2 separate regions of the Homo sapiens genome follow, and region 2 is linked to region 1. Evidence: promoter capture Hi-C in human tissues and cell types (Jung and others, 2019). All regions are on one chromosome and are shown on one strand. The core of a region is centred on a gene start or on the middle of the fragment in contact, and the rest is flanking DNA. Distances in the headings are between cores, read along the strand shown.

Region 1 (6,416 bases), core at 2,573-5,072:
TGGGTTCATATGTCAGCAGGCCTGGTTCATGCCTGTGGGTGTCTGGGCAGAGGGTCAGGGATCCCATGGGGGGATCTGTGCCCACCATGGTTGAGAGCCCCTCACCTCCTCGTACAGCCGCCTCAGGAAGTCAATCTCCTGGATCAGGGCCTCCACGTTGGCCTCCAGGTCTGACTTGCGGAGGTAGGCGCAGTCCACATCCTGGGTGGGGTAGAAGGGGCTGTGAGGCCGGCTTTCCTCAGAGGGCTCTGAGGACCTGGCTGCCATGTGGCAGGACAAAGAGGATGGGTGGCGGGACTCAGGGCGGGCTCAGGGCCAGCTGGGCTTCACTCACCTTCTTTAGAGCCACAAACTCGTTCTCTGCTGTGGCTCGAAGTGCTACTTCTTCTTCATACCTGAGGTGAGCAGGGAGAACAGGACCTTGTCTGAACAGCTCTTGATCTTGGCCATGAGCATATATGCAAAGGAGTCTCTTTCCTAGACCTCCCCCTGCTTGTCTCCTGCCCCCAAGTGAAATGGGTGGGGCTCTGCAGGAACCAGGCTGCTGGCCTGGGTACTACTGGGATGCACTGGAGAAATGAAGTGCCTACTCCCCTGTTTTTTTTTGTTTTTGTTTTTGAGATGGAGTCTCGCTCTGTCGCCCAGGTTGGAGCACAGTGGCGCGGTCTCGGCTCACTGCAAGCTCCGCCTCCCAGGTTCATGCCATTCTCCCCTCTCAGCCTCCCGAGTAGCTGGGACTACAGGTGCCCACCACCACGCCTGGCTAATTCACTCCCCTGTTTTGGTGGAGGTTGGGAGAGCAGGATCTGGAAGCTGAGTGTGTGAATGTGTGTGGTTGGGGAGTGGGAGGTGCTGTTTTTCTCGCCTAGGTCTCCATCTTTTCTTCCTTCGAGCCCTCCCCTGCCCCCACTCAGCTGCAGGTGGTGGGATCCTCGCTCTGTCTCTCCCCTCCTGGCCTGAGCTGTGGGAGGCAGCTCAGAGACAGGGAGGGAGGGGTATGCTGGGCCTGGGGAGTCCATGGAGAGAATGTTACTGAAGGAAGCTGGCCACCCCTCAAAAGCAGATTCCTTCTGAGGATCCAGTGCGTATTCTTCATACCATATATCACACTTTGTAGCTGAAGGGCTAGATCTGTGGCTCTGTCATGACTGCCTTCCAGCAGACTGCAGGCTCCACAAGAACCCGCACTGTGTGGCTTGCGTGGCCCTGTGTCACTATCACCAGCACAGCGTGCTGCATGTGGTAGGTGATCAGATAGTGTTAGCTGAGTGAGAGAGCAAACTTAGGAAGACACATGTCCAGGACTTTGAGATCTGGTCTCAAAGGGACCCAGGAATACAAGTTTTTGTGAAAAATGGATGGAGAAAGGGAGAGAGCATTGTTTCCCTGATCTGCTGGTGGAAAGACAAGCTGAGCCTCCATCCCCCACACCCAAGGGACCCCTGTGTCTCAAACAGGGGGTACAGGTTCTTCTCCACTCTCAGGCAGAGATGCCAGCTGCAGACTGGATACTCCTCCGGGCTCAGGGAGCTGCCACCATGCTATTTCCTGTGCCCAGAACCCCTCCTGCCCACACTCACTTCTTCTTGTAGCCCTCCAGCACCTCCTGCACGTGGTTGAGCTCTGAGGCCAGCCTCCCACTGTCAGCCTCCACGCACTCGGCCTCCCGCCGCAGAGTCTCGATGTAGCCAGCAAACAGGGGCTCCAGGTTACTCTGGCAGCACTCGCGGTTTTGGTAGAACTGCAGCTTTGTCTCCAGCAGCTTGTTCTGCTGCTCCAGGAAGCGCACCTGCCACCCAGAGGCAGAGCCTAAGAACCTCTTCTTGCAGCATCAGAGGACAAAGAGGGGTTCCCAGCACGAGGGCCTGAAAGCCCCCAACTCTCTGACCCAGAGTCTTCCCTGGAAGGCGTTATGTCATCTCTCTCAAAAATGCCACCAGGGCTTAACCAGTTCACCACCTGGAAGTTCTTCCTGGGAGTTAATCTCTTCTAAGTCAGTTTACCTGGTGTCATGGAAAATGCTTGAAGAGTCCAGATTCTGCTGCCACTTGTTAACATTGTGCCCTTGGATAAAGCACTCACCTCCTCTGTAGAGTGGCGAGGTTAAAGCTCACCTTACTATGAGGATTAAAAGAACCCTTTAACAGAAAGGCACCCCACACTGAACAGCTACTGCTGTTCAATCACACCAAGCCAGGTGGACCTTTTTAGAAAGGCAAACTGTAAAAGTTGAAAAATAAAGCATGTGCCAATTATTCAAACCCTACAACAACAATGCAATTAGAATAATAGTCACCTGCAATATGAGAGTAGGAATGTCCTGTGCTCCAACCCCCTTATTTTACTGATGAGGCCAAGGAGGTTCCCTGACTGCCTGAGAGCTCACAGTGGCAGAGAAGAGCTCAAACTCCGATCTTCTGCGCTGCAGGGGGTGTCTTCTCTCCCTTTGACAATTATAGGAACATCCCTCTCCCAGCGATGAGGTTGGCCCACTACTCCACTCAGCTTCTTTTGTCTAATAACTTGGCCACACCCTTGGTAGGTCCTATCTTATGCTATCCTTGGTCTCTCATGCTATTAGAAATTCCACATTTTTTTTTCCCGATCCTTTCTGGTGGGCATCTCTCTAGTGTGACTCCTCTCTTGAGGTTTTGGCTCTGGAGGGCTCTTTCCAACCCCAGAACATGTTCCTAGTCAGAGCCTTTTCTCCCAGTCTCTCACATCACTGCCACATGGTGGTTGCCTGGATTCAGTGGAGAAGGTGGCTGCAAACTCTAGTTGGACACTGACTACACAGATGGTTTCAACCAAACCCAGACTGTGCACTGCCTGCCTCCCCATAAAGCCTGTGAGGATGGGGACCATGACTCTTGCTCACCCCTGGATCCTGAGCCCCAGGAACAGTGGCTTGGACAAAATACTCTAGACCCTGCTCAGTGGCCAAATCACTGTGTGGTATAGAAAGAGTTCTGTGCCATCCACGAGACCCACTTCCAGACAGTTTTCCAGCACCACACTTATTAGCCCTGCCTTGATGGAGACAGCATCTCCTTGGCATTTAAGCAGTTATTTGGCTTCAAATGCCCTGAGCGCCCACACAGTGGTCCTTTGCTCACTAGGTGATATTATCACTCAGTGTGGAAGGCTCTGCCCCTCGTTCTGCTTTTGTGTTTTCAGTTAATCTCCCCCATCAGTCTGGTAGCTCCCGGTCCCATTTTTGTCTTTCTGTCTGTGTCCTAGAAGTATGACTACCTTTCCCTTTGGCCTGGGAACTTCTGTGGGCAAGTTCTTGCCTTTGACTTCCCTGTCAGTGCCCAGCCTGAGTTCTGAACATGAGTAGGGGTTCAGGAAGGGTGTGATCCAGGACGACACCCACCTTGTCGATGAAGGCCGCGAATCTGCTGTTGAGGGACTTGATCTGCTCCTTCTCCTCCTGCTTCACGCACTGCGCGTTGGGGTCTATCTCCAGGTTGAGGGGCGTGAGGAGGCTCTCGTTGACCGACACGGTGGTGATGCATGGGGGGCTGGGTCCGCACACGCCCCCGGAGCGGTAGCCGAAGCTGCGTCCGCAGGAGCCGGCGCGGAAGCCCCCGCACACGCTGTGGCTGCCAAAGCCCCCGGTGAGGCCGCGGTAGCAGGAGATGCCGCGGTAGGGGGCGGCGGTGATGCAGCAGCGGCTTGGCCGGGGCCCGCAGGCAGAGACACAGCTGAAGTTTCCAGGGCGGAACCCACAGCCTATGGAGTTGAAGCCACAGGTCATGACGGAGGTTAGGAGGTGTCTGAACAGTGGAGTAGATGGCAGAGGATGGAACCAAGGGCCTGTGCTCCCTGGCTGATGGCAGGCCCTTTTATGTGCCAGGGGCAGCTGGTGTTAAAAGAGGGAGCAAAGAGACAATAGCTGAATTTTATTGGCTTGGCATCACCCTGGCCTCTTAAGCTAGAACCCTGCTTGCCTCTTCAGTGTGGCTGCATCAACAATCCCTGGCCACGGGCCCTGTTTCATCTTCAAAGCCCTTTATAAGCTTCCTCCTTGCTCCTGCCCCTCCCACTGGCACTGCTGTGGAGCGGGGAGAGGGGTTCCTGAAAGCATTAGTTGCATTCTGCGGTCCAAGCGAGGGGAATGGGTGCAGTGACCTGGGGTAAAGCCTGCTCTCTGAACCCTGTTCTGAAAGGGGCAGAGCTAGGCTATGGGCCCTGGACCCATGGCCAAGCCCTGGGGTGGAGTGGCTGGCCTGTCCCAAGGAGGGGGCTGCCTCTGAGACAACCTCTTGCTGTAGGCTTTCCTGTCTTTTTCTCAAAGGCGGGTTCCTTTCCTCATTGTCAAGATTGGCCGCTCCTATCCTATTCCTGCTCAGAGCCTGGTCAAGGATGGGAGTGGGGGTAGAGATTTGGGGTGGGAGGAGGGCATGTTCTTTGCACTTTGGGTATTCCTAGTGCAGGGACACCATCTGGGACATGGAAGAAACTGATTCAGAGAGTTCAGGACAGTGCCAGGGCTATGCTTCAGAGTTCCAGGTGTCATTGCTGATGGGATCAGGAGCGGGGAGTGTGGAATACCTCAGAGCTCCAGGGACTCATGGAGGAGAGTGGGGACCTGGGCTTGAGGAGGATTGGGGTGGGGTAGTACAGGATTGAGAGATGACCAGAAAAGAGTCTGGCTCTGATTTGCAGACTAGACTATGTGTATTCATTTATTCATTTATTCATTTATTCATTTATTCAGGAAATACTTATTTGGTGCCCACCAACTATGCACTAGCCACTGTGCTAGGTTCTGGAAATCCTACAGAGACCTGGGGTGTTTGGAGGTAGCATGCATGTGGGGGAGCCAACATTTGGCTAGGGGGAAAGATGAGAAGCCACAGATGGGGGGAAGGCCCTCACAATGTCCAGGCTGATTGGTGTTCTTTAGGTTCCCAGCAGGGAAGCTCAGTGATGGGGTCTTGGGGTGTATGTACTCACCAGGAAGGAGGGAAGGTGCGGGAGGTGAGGGACATCAGCAGGGTCCTTAAATGAGATCACTCTCTCACCTCAGAGAACACACTGGGTGAGAGAAGGGTGCTAGCTCATGTGGCTGTTCCTAAAGCCAAGCTCTCTTACTTTGGGCCCTTGTTCCTTTGGGTTAGGACAGGCAATGGCTTTGATGGATGGACAGTCGGACCGAGCCAGGAGGTTTGCCTTAACCCGAGGACCTGAGCCCATCAACCCTTCCAAACACACATCTCTGGACTGCTTTCGTCAGGAGAGGATGAGGAGGACTCCACTGATGGACCTGTGTCCTGACCCAGCCACAACCCAACACTGACCCACTCTGGGCTAATAGTAACCCTCCTGTGACTCTCATCTTTTGCCCTTCCCACTCCCGCTCAGGATGAGTGGGCCAGTTATATCCCAGAGTGGGGATCTGGGGATGATGGAAGAGGGGCCCATCTTCTGTGGGCCTGAGGGAGGGCAGGCGATGGTGCTGTTGAAATCTCTTAGGGAGCTGGACATCTGCCATGGATCCAAAAAAAGGACTCTCCTAGCCTCTCTTCTTGGGTCCTGTGGACAGGCTTCCAGAGTCTTGTGTCTGGGGCAGGAACTCTGGGGGTGTGGGCTGTGTGATAGGGGATCCTGGTGTGAAAGACACACCAGGGAGGCACAGCCTGAGGGTACCTGGGGGGCCTGGGGGTGGCTGACTGCAGCTGAGTGGCTAGTGGGATTTTGGGAGCATCTTTGAGGGAGGCTGGGCTGGCTGGTGCTGTCATGTTCAGTCTTGGTTGGGTCAAACATCTGCTAGACAGCCAAGAAAGACCAGGCTCTTCACCCACCCACACTGGAACCAGTGAGCACCTGGAATGCTCTCCACACATATCCAATGATTATGGGGGATCTGTTTCTTGGTGAAATGCTGAGGACTGCAGGGCAGTGAACCCTCTGTGAAGCATTTCTCCATCACGATGCTGGAAACTGCGCTGCTGTCTTCTGACCTGGCTCATCTGTCTCAATCCAGCAGGCTTGGATCATGTTGGACCCCTCCACCGAGGGGCTCTGTGTAGACACATGACCTCCTTGGGATGGGGGAGCCATGACCATGCCCACCCCTGCCCTGATTGGCTCTGAAGATAGCATGGACCCTGGAGATAAAAAGACACAATTCGAAGCCCAACTATATCTCTTACTAGCTTTGTGCCATGGCACAGGCGTTTTCCCCCAGGGTCCTTACTTGTGAAATATAAATGGTAATCCACAGCTTGCTGGAGGTTGGGAGGACCGAGCGAGTGCCTGGTGGAGGGAAGCGCCACCCCCACCTCACTTTGTGCTAGCAGGGTGACTGGGTCTTGGTTGCAGGCACCTGGCAGGGCCTTGCAAAGGGACAGTGTACACGGCTAGTGAGATGCAGAGTACCATTCCTGGGTAAGCAGAAAGCAGTTTTA
Region 2 (6,416 bases), core at 2,670-5,169, 37 kb after region 1:
GGGAACATCTCTGCGCTTTGCCCTCGGATGACAGGGGCTCCAGATGCTGCCTCAGCATGGAAGGGTGGTGTGGGTGTGGAGCTGGGCTCCTCACTTGCTCTGAGAGATTGTATATTCCCAGAGTCCCCCAACTATTCATATGTCCAGATTGAAAGACTGACGGAGGCTAATCAGCTGGGTTTATACTGTTTGTTGCCTGGAAGTTCATTGTATTTGCATGATTCCTGTATGGTTCCTTCTTTCTTTTGGTGTGCTTGATTAAATATCAATGGCGAAAGGCTTTTTCTTAGTAACCAAGTTAATGCCTGCCTCCTTCATTGTCTTCCCAACCCACCCAAAGCCCTGACTGTCTTGGTGCATCTCACAATGTGGTCCACCGACCACCACCTGCATCAGAATCCCTGTGGGGTAGTTGCTAAATGTGCAGATCCTGGGCTCCATCTGGAACTCTCAATCAAAAGTTCTAGGGATGAGCCCAGGAATCTGTATTTTAAGAAGCTTCCAGGTGATTCCTAGAAGAACTAAAGCTTGAGAACCACAGGTTGATGTGGGTAGAGGGAAGAGGAGGGTCGGATAATTCTGGCCATGGAAGTGACTGTCCCTCTGATTCTCACTGGATCGGTCTAGCCCCTTTGCATTTCTCCTTTGTCTGCGGCTAAAAGGTCAGAGCCATGGTCTGGGCCACACACACACCAGGGCAAGGTGGGGGCAAAGGTACAAAAGGGGTGAGGAAGGGAGCCTGTATTTGTTAAACACCTGCTAGGTGTCTGGCACATTATATATGTATTTCATTAATTTCTCACAGCAACCAGAATATTATCCTCATTTTACGTATAAATAAATTAAGGCTCAAAGAAGTAGCTTTACTAAGTTACCCAGCTAGTCCAGAATTCAAACTCATGTCTAGGGAATGCTGCTGTTCATAAATGTTTCCACAGCATTTCCCTAATTGCTCCTCAGGCTAAACATTCCGGCTCATCAGATGCTTCCGGAGGAGTTCTGCCTGATGCTCCTTCACCAGCTGTCTGACACTTTGGAGATGAGATGGAAGGTGACACATGGGACCTCCTAGAAGCATTTGTAGAAACATCTCCCCGTAGGTTCTGTTCTCCAAGAATCTCGGACAGATCGTACCACGGGGCGGTTAATACAAGCCTTTTATATGGGAACCCAAGATCAAAGCTCAGACACGTGGTTGGAAGGCATTTGCCCTGATAACCTGGTCAGAGGCAATTGATTGGTGAACTGTATGTCTGGCCTACTCTTGAACTGACAGTTCCCTAGAAGTCCTACCTAGGGCTGTCTCACCTGTATGTGATGAATGGAGACAGGGGTTTCTGAAGGTCAACTTTCTTTCACTTGTTGTACAGGAAGAACTATTTCTCCCACCTTATTTTATTTGGAACTTTTTTTTTTTTAAGCCTGACTGGGTAGGAAACATTTTGCCACAAGAATGCATATCTGATCTCATGACATAGAAAAGTCTTTAAAAGGTTTTTTTTTTCTTTTCTTTTCCATGGTGCTCACGCACATTGCCAAACCTTCTGGTACCAGCTCCGGACCTGCCAAGGCAATGGCTTGGCACCCCGGCCTAGGGGTGGAGTCTGGGGGAGCAGGGCCTGGCCTTTTGACTACCTGCGGGTTCGCTCCCCACATCCCATTCACTGCAGACGGGCGACCCCCGAGGGTCTTTATAAAACCTCTGTGCCAGGACGCACTAGGCACCTAGACTTCGGAGAGGAGGGCGCCGACCCCGGCCACGGTGCTATGGGCATGTCACGGGGCAGCCCTGAGCAGCCAATAACCCCCAAACACCCTGCCCACTACCCCAAAACGGCGGGCAGGTGGCGCCCAGCTCGCCCTCCCGTCCCTCCCGGCGCCCAGCCCCTAGGCCCCTCACCACTGGGGTTAGAGGCTAAGGGCGGGACGCGGGGCGTCTCGGGCAGGGGTGAAGGAGGGCAGCCGGGGCCCAGGCGTGGAGGGCGGGCGCGTTTGAGAGAGGCGCAGGCGGCGGGATCCCGGCGGACGGCAGAAGACTCAGGAACCAGTCCAGAGGCGCCGAGGCGCGAACCTTGCGTGAGCCAAGGACCCAAGGCCCCTGTGGATCTGATCCCGCGGGCTCCAGCAGGGCCCGCGCCGTGCATCTGGAGATGGGCCCAGGATACCCGGTGGCTGGACGTGACGGTGGGCAGGCAGGCAGGGCAGGGCACGGGGCGACCCGTGAGCAAAGCGAGGGTGGGGGTAGGAGGGGTGTGGCCCCTGACTCTCGTGGGTGGGGAGATGGGGGACAACGGTGGCCTCAACGGGAGACGGGGCCAAAGTGGGGACCTGCAGGGAGGACCTGCAGGCCCCTTGTTACACTGTAAACTGTCCCCACCCAGGTGGCCTGCGGACCACCGAGGCTGAGGAAGTCCTGCTGGCCTGGACGGTGACTCGCCTTCCCATCCCGAGTCTCTCGCATCCAGAGGGCCAGCACTGCACGGGCGACATAACAGAGAAGAGCCTTTGAATGGTTCTCCTCGGCCACGCAGTTCTTCTGATGTCTTCAGACTCTGTTTCAGTGACCACAATGGCCAGGCAGTGACTTGACCTGGGCGGACAGAGGTCTATCTTAGTAGGGTGGTGCTTCCCTTGTCTCTGTCTCCCGGACCAAAGGGTCTTGCAGGGGCCTGCCCATCACAGTCCGGATCCCACCAAGTTTGAGCAGCAGTAAAGCCAGGTTAAAAGGGTCACCAGAGTGACTCTGAGGAGGAAACGGTGTCTCAGGGGGCATTGGCTGCCCTGGGGCATGGGACTGTGGACTGGGGAAGGGTCTGTGTTTCCTTTTGATGGTGGTGGAGGGTGGCTATTTGTCTATGAATGCCTTGGGTATTTTCTTCATTTTTAATGCGTAAGCTTATCATGCTGTCCCCGCCTCACCCCACTCCCTGGCTGCTCCCCTGCCAACATGGGGGAGCCCTCGGTTTTTGAACAAAGCGGAAATGAGCAGGGATTTCCAGGCATGCACAGGTTGGGGGTTGGGGGTTGGGGGAGGCAGGAAGGTGGCCTGAGGCTCTGTGAAATAAGCCTCTCCCATTGCTTGTTCTGCCTGGCATGTCCCTACACCCAAGGAGTGTGGCGCTTAGTGCCCATGTCGTTGTTGCTCTGATCCTCAATGAGCAAAACACTTAGTACAGTCACTTCCTAATGCTCATGTTCCCAGAGAGAGACAGGAGTGTGAATAACCCAGACAAGGGGACATTAAGTCCCACATGGTCATGTCCGTGTCTACACAGAACATACTTGGTAATTTTCTTGATAATATGGTTAATTTGTGTTCCTCACTATGCTTGGCTAATGTGAGTAGTAACACAAAATTCTATTTTCTGAGATCCCAAAGATTGAAGCAGGGAACAGTTAGAGACACGGGCTGGGGGAAGGAACTCTCTTGGGCATAGGTGTTTGTGAGGATGGGTTGAAGCAGAGTGGGTTGAGAATTGGTGGTGGAGTGTTAGTGGTTTCAGGAGAAAGGAAAAGATGACAAATCCCAAGCGTACCTGTTTCTTTGAACAGGTTATTATCCATACTTCTAATCCTCTGGAAGCTTTGTGTGTTTGTGGGGAAGGATATCACTAACATTTACATAAGAATTGAATACAGACAGCAGGTCTGATTTTCTCTGATGCTGGTGTTAGCTTGGTTTGTGATGTTTCTAAGCAGGAAGGAGCCCAGGGCAGAGATCTGGGATCACTCCCATGGCCCACTTTATTGTTTGGGCCTCTTGAACTTCTGGCTTTTCCTCGATCTCTCAATTTCAGGTCACTTGACTTCTTCAGAATTTTTTCTTTCTAATAAAATGTTAATCCTTAGTTACCCTTGGACTGTACCCTTTGCATTCCGAGGGGAATAGTTCTTTGATCAGGAGAGAGCTGCAGGAGCCCCAGCATCCTTTGAGCCAGAAGAGCTTGCTGTGGTGGGTTTTTGCTGTTGGCTGCAAGGAGGGCTGGGGCAGAGGCTTACCTCCCCATAAGCAAAAGGCACCTCTGGCCAGCTGAATCTGTTGAATGGTATTTGCACACAAAGCACGGAAATGTATTAAAAAATTCATTCCTATCTCCCAGGTTCTGGCTGTTTGACTTTTCAATCCATGGTGCCGTTATTTTTTGGGTATCAGATTTGGCATTTTTGTTTTGCTCAGCCCAGATCCATGGTAACATGAAGCTGTTTTCCCCAAGCATAGACTCTCTGTAGCATCTCAGAACCATAGGAGGCAGCAGACCTGGTAAGGACTCTACCCACTCATCTCATAGACCCCAGACTGACATGCAAAGCATGAAAGCCACTTCCTGCCCAAGGACTCACCGAGACCTGGCAGTCTTGGCAGAATTGGGGCTCAAATTTCCATTTCCTGATGTTTCAGCCCCTGGGATTTAACGTTTCCTGTGGGTGAATGATGTCCCCTAAATTGAAAGTTGGCCTATTGTGATTGTCACCATGCCCTCAGGGCCCAAACAGCTGGGAAAAAGGAGGCAGCAGGCAAGAGACCTGGAGGAGGCCCGCCAGGTGTCAGCCAGCAAACCTCAAACAGAGCAGCAGCCTAAGCACTCAGAAGCAGCCAGCAGCCTCCAGTGGGGCTACAGCCCTTTGGGCCTAAAGTGAGGATGCACAAGGCCCTATCTTCTCCTCTCAGAGAAAGAGGCTGCAGGATGGGGCAGCAGGGGGCTGGCAGACACCTGCTTGATGACGGTGACAGCTAATGGGGAGATGGAGCTGAGGGCAAGAGGACTGGATGTCTCTACCTCCTGCTGCACCAGCTGCCTGCATTCATCCAGCACATCCCAGGCCTGGCATATCTTGGAGCCCCATCCTGGGACTCAGTGGGAGGTCAGAGCCAGGAGGAGATACTTCCTGTCCTTATGGAATTTCCAGCTTGATCCAGACACACCCGTTGACATCCCTGGCCCAGATCCGCAGAGACAAAACCAGAGATTCTCAGGGTTCCAGACACTATATGATGGGGGCGGGGGAGGGCTGGGGGGTGTAGGGGTGAGGGTGGTAGCTTTGGGGAGCAGAGGAGGGCCCTGAGCAAAGGCAAATGGGAGGAGGGATGTGGGATGGCCTATGTGTCCACAAGGGGTATGTAGGAGAGAGTGTCTCTGGGCTGCCTCAGAGGGTAGACTTGTCTCCTTGGGGTGGAGTCCATGACTGGGAGGATGAGCACCGCATGGAGGGGTTGGACAGGGCTGAGGAGTAGCTGGGGAAGGAGGTGACAGAGGAAGCCTGCATTTGGCATAAGAAGCACACACATGTGCCAGGAAGTGACTTGAGCCAGGCAGGAGAGGGTGAGAGCAGTGAGTTTGGGATGGAGTTTTGGCTGCTGGGAGTACGCAGGGTGGGTCAGGGAGAAAGAGGTCATTAGTGGGGAGCTGGGCTGTAGTCCAGGCCTGAGGGGACTGAGGGCGACTGAGTGGAATCAGACTGTGGAAGTGGACAGGAAGCAGCAGAGTTTCTGGGGGGTGACTGGGGAAACACTGCATGGGGCTGGACTGGGATTGGTCATCTGGAGATGAGGCAAGAAGGGAGTGGAGAAGTTGCTCACAAGACCACACGCTCTTGCATTGCAGCGGCATTTATTGAAACACAGATCGAGACAACCCAGAAGGCAATGCACCCATAGACAGTCACAAGAAGGAGACCCAGGAAGTGGCTTAACTCTCTGTCCCGCCAGCTCTGCATTGGACAGTCCCCACCTGCACCCAGCAAGGGGGCATCTGGAGCAGCCATGGAGTCTTCTTTGAAATGTACAAAGGTTCACTGAATAGCAAGACCTGTCCAAAGTGCCCTAACCAGGGGCTGTAGGCAAAAGGATGCCCCACGATAATGGGCTTCTCAACTGCGAGGTCACATGAGGAGCCTGGCTGGAACAGGTTAGCCCAGAAGCAGGAAGGCAGTCTGAGAGAGAAGCAAAACATGAACAGGAATGAACAGGCAAGTGCTTGCTGGGGGACCATTCTTCCCAGCCAGGAGGAGGGGGCTGCTGGGGAGGGACTTTCTCCCTGATTCTCGGGTTGTGGGTGGCCTGGCTGGATGGTTAGGATGGCGCCTCCACCCAGAAGGTGGAGCTTCCGTGCTGACCACCACGCTGGGGGACTGGTCTTGTCCCTGAGAGCTGGGGGAATAATACAAATTGGATACAGGTATTTTGGAGCTAAGTAGGAGTTAAGTGAAGGGCTGGGAATGCCTCTGAAAACAGCTGCCAGGAGGACAACTAGGATGCATCTCCCTAGCATGAAAAGGCGCAGGGGAGCGGCCCGAGGGTCTTTCCCTCTGTAGGTCTTTCCCTCTGTAGGAACATCCAGAAGATTCTGGAAGCAAGCACACATTTTCCATTCACATGCCATTCAGTGCAGTGATGCAGGCAGGCAGGTGCTTGGCAG

Evidence for each region. The method cuts DNA at HindIII sites, captures the fragments that hold promoters and counts their contacts. A contact is called where the count stands out against the background at its distance.
Region 2: a fragment that was not itself captured here is called in contact with the fragment with the promoter of KRT83 in region 1 in 2 of the 25 tissues and cell types used here (adrenal gland and pancreas).

Annotation. Positions count from the first base shown.
Region 1 is chr12:52,317,576-52,323,991 of GRCh38, forward strand. KRT83 (keratin 83) reads right to left here and starts at 3,823. Exons shown (of 9, transcript NM_002282.3): 1 at 3,377-3,823; 2 at 1,581-1,789; 3 at 335-395; 4 at 106-201. The coding sequence starts at 3,760. The HindIII fragment of the contact is 13,306 bases long and covers 1-5,903 here.
Region 2 is chr12:52,354,414-52,360,829 of GRCh38, forward strand. It overlaps KRT85 (keratin 85), which reads right to left. Exons shown (of 9, transcript NM_002283.4): 9 at 5,593-6,416. Among named protein-coding and RNA genes, the nearest start is that of KRT85, 9.9 kb to the right of the region's middle. The HindIII fragment of the contact is 6,815 bases long and covers 513-6,416 here.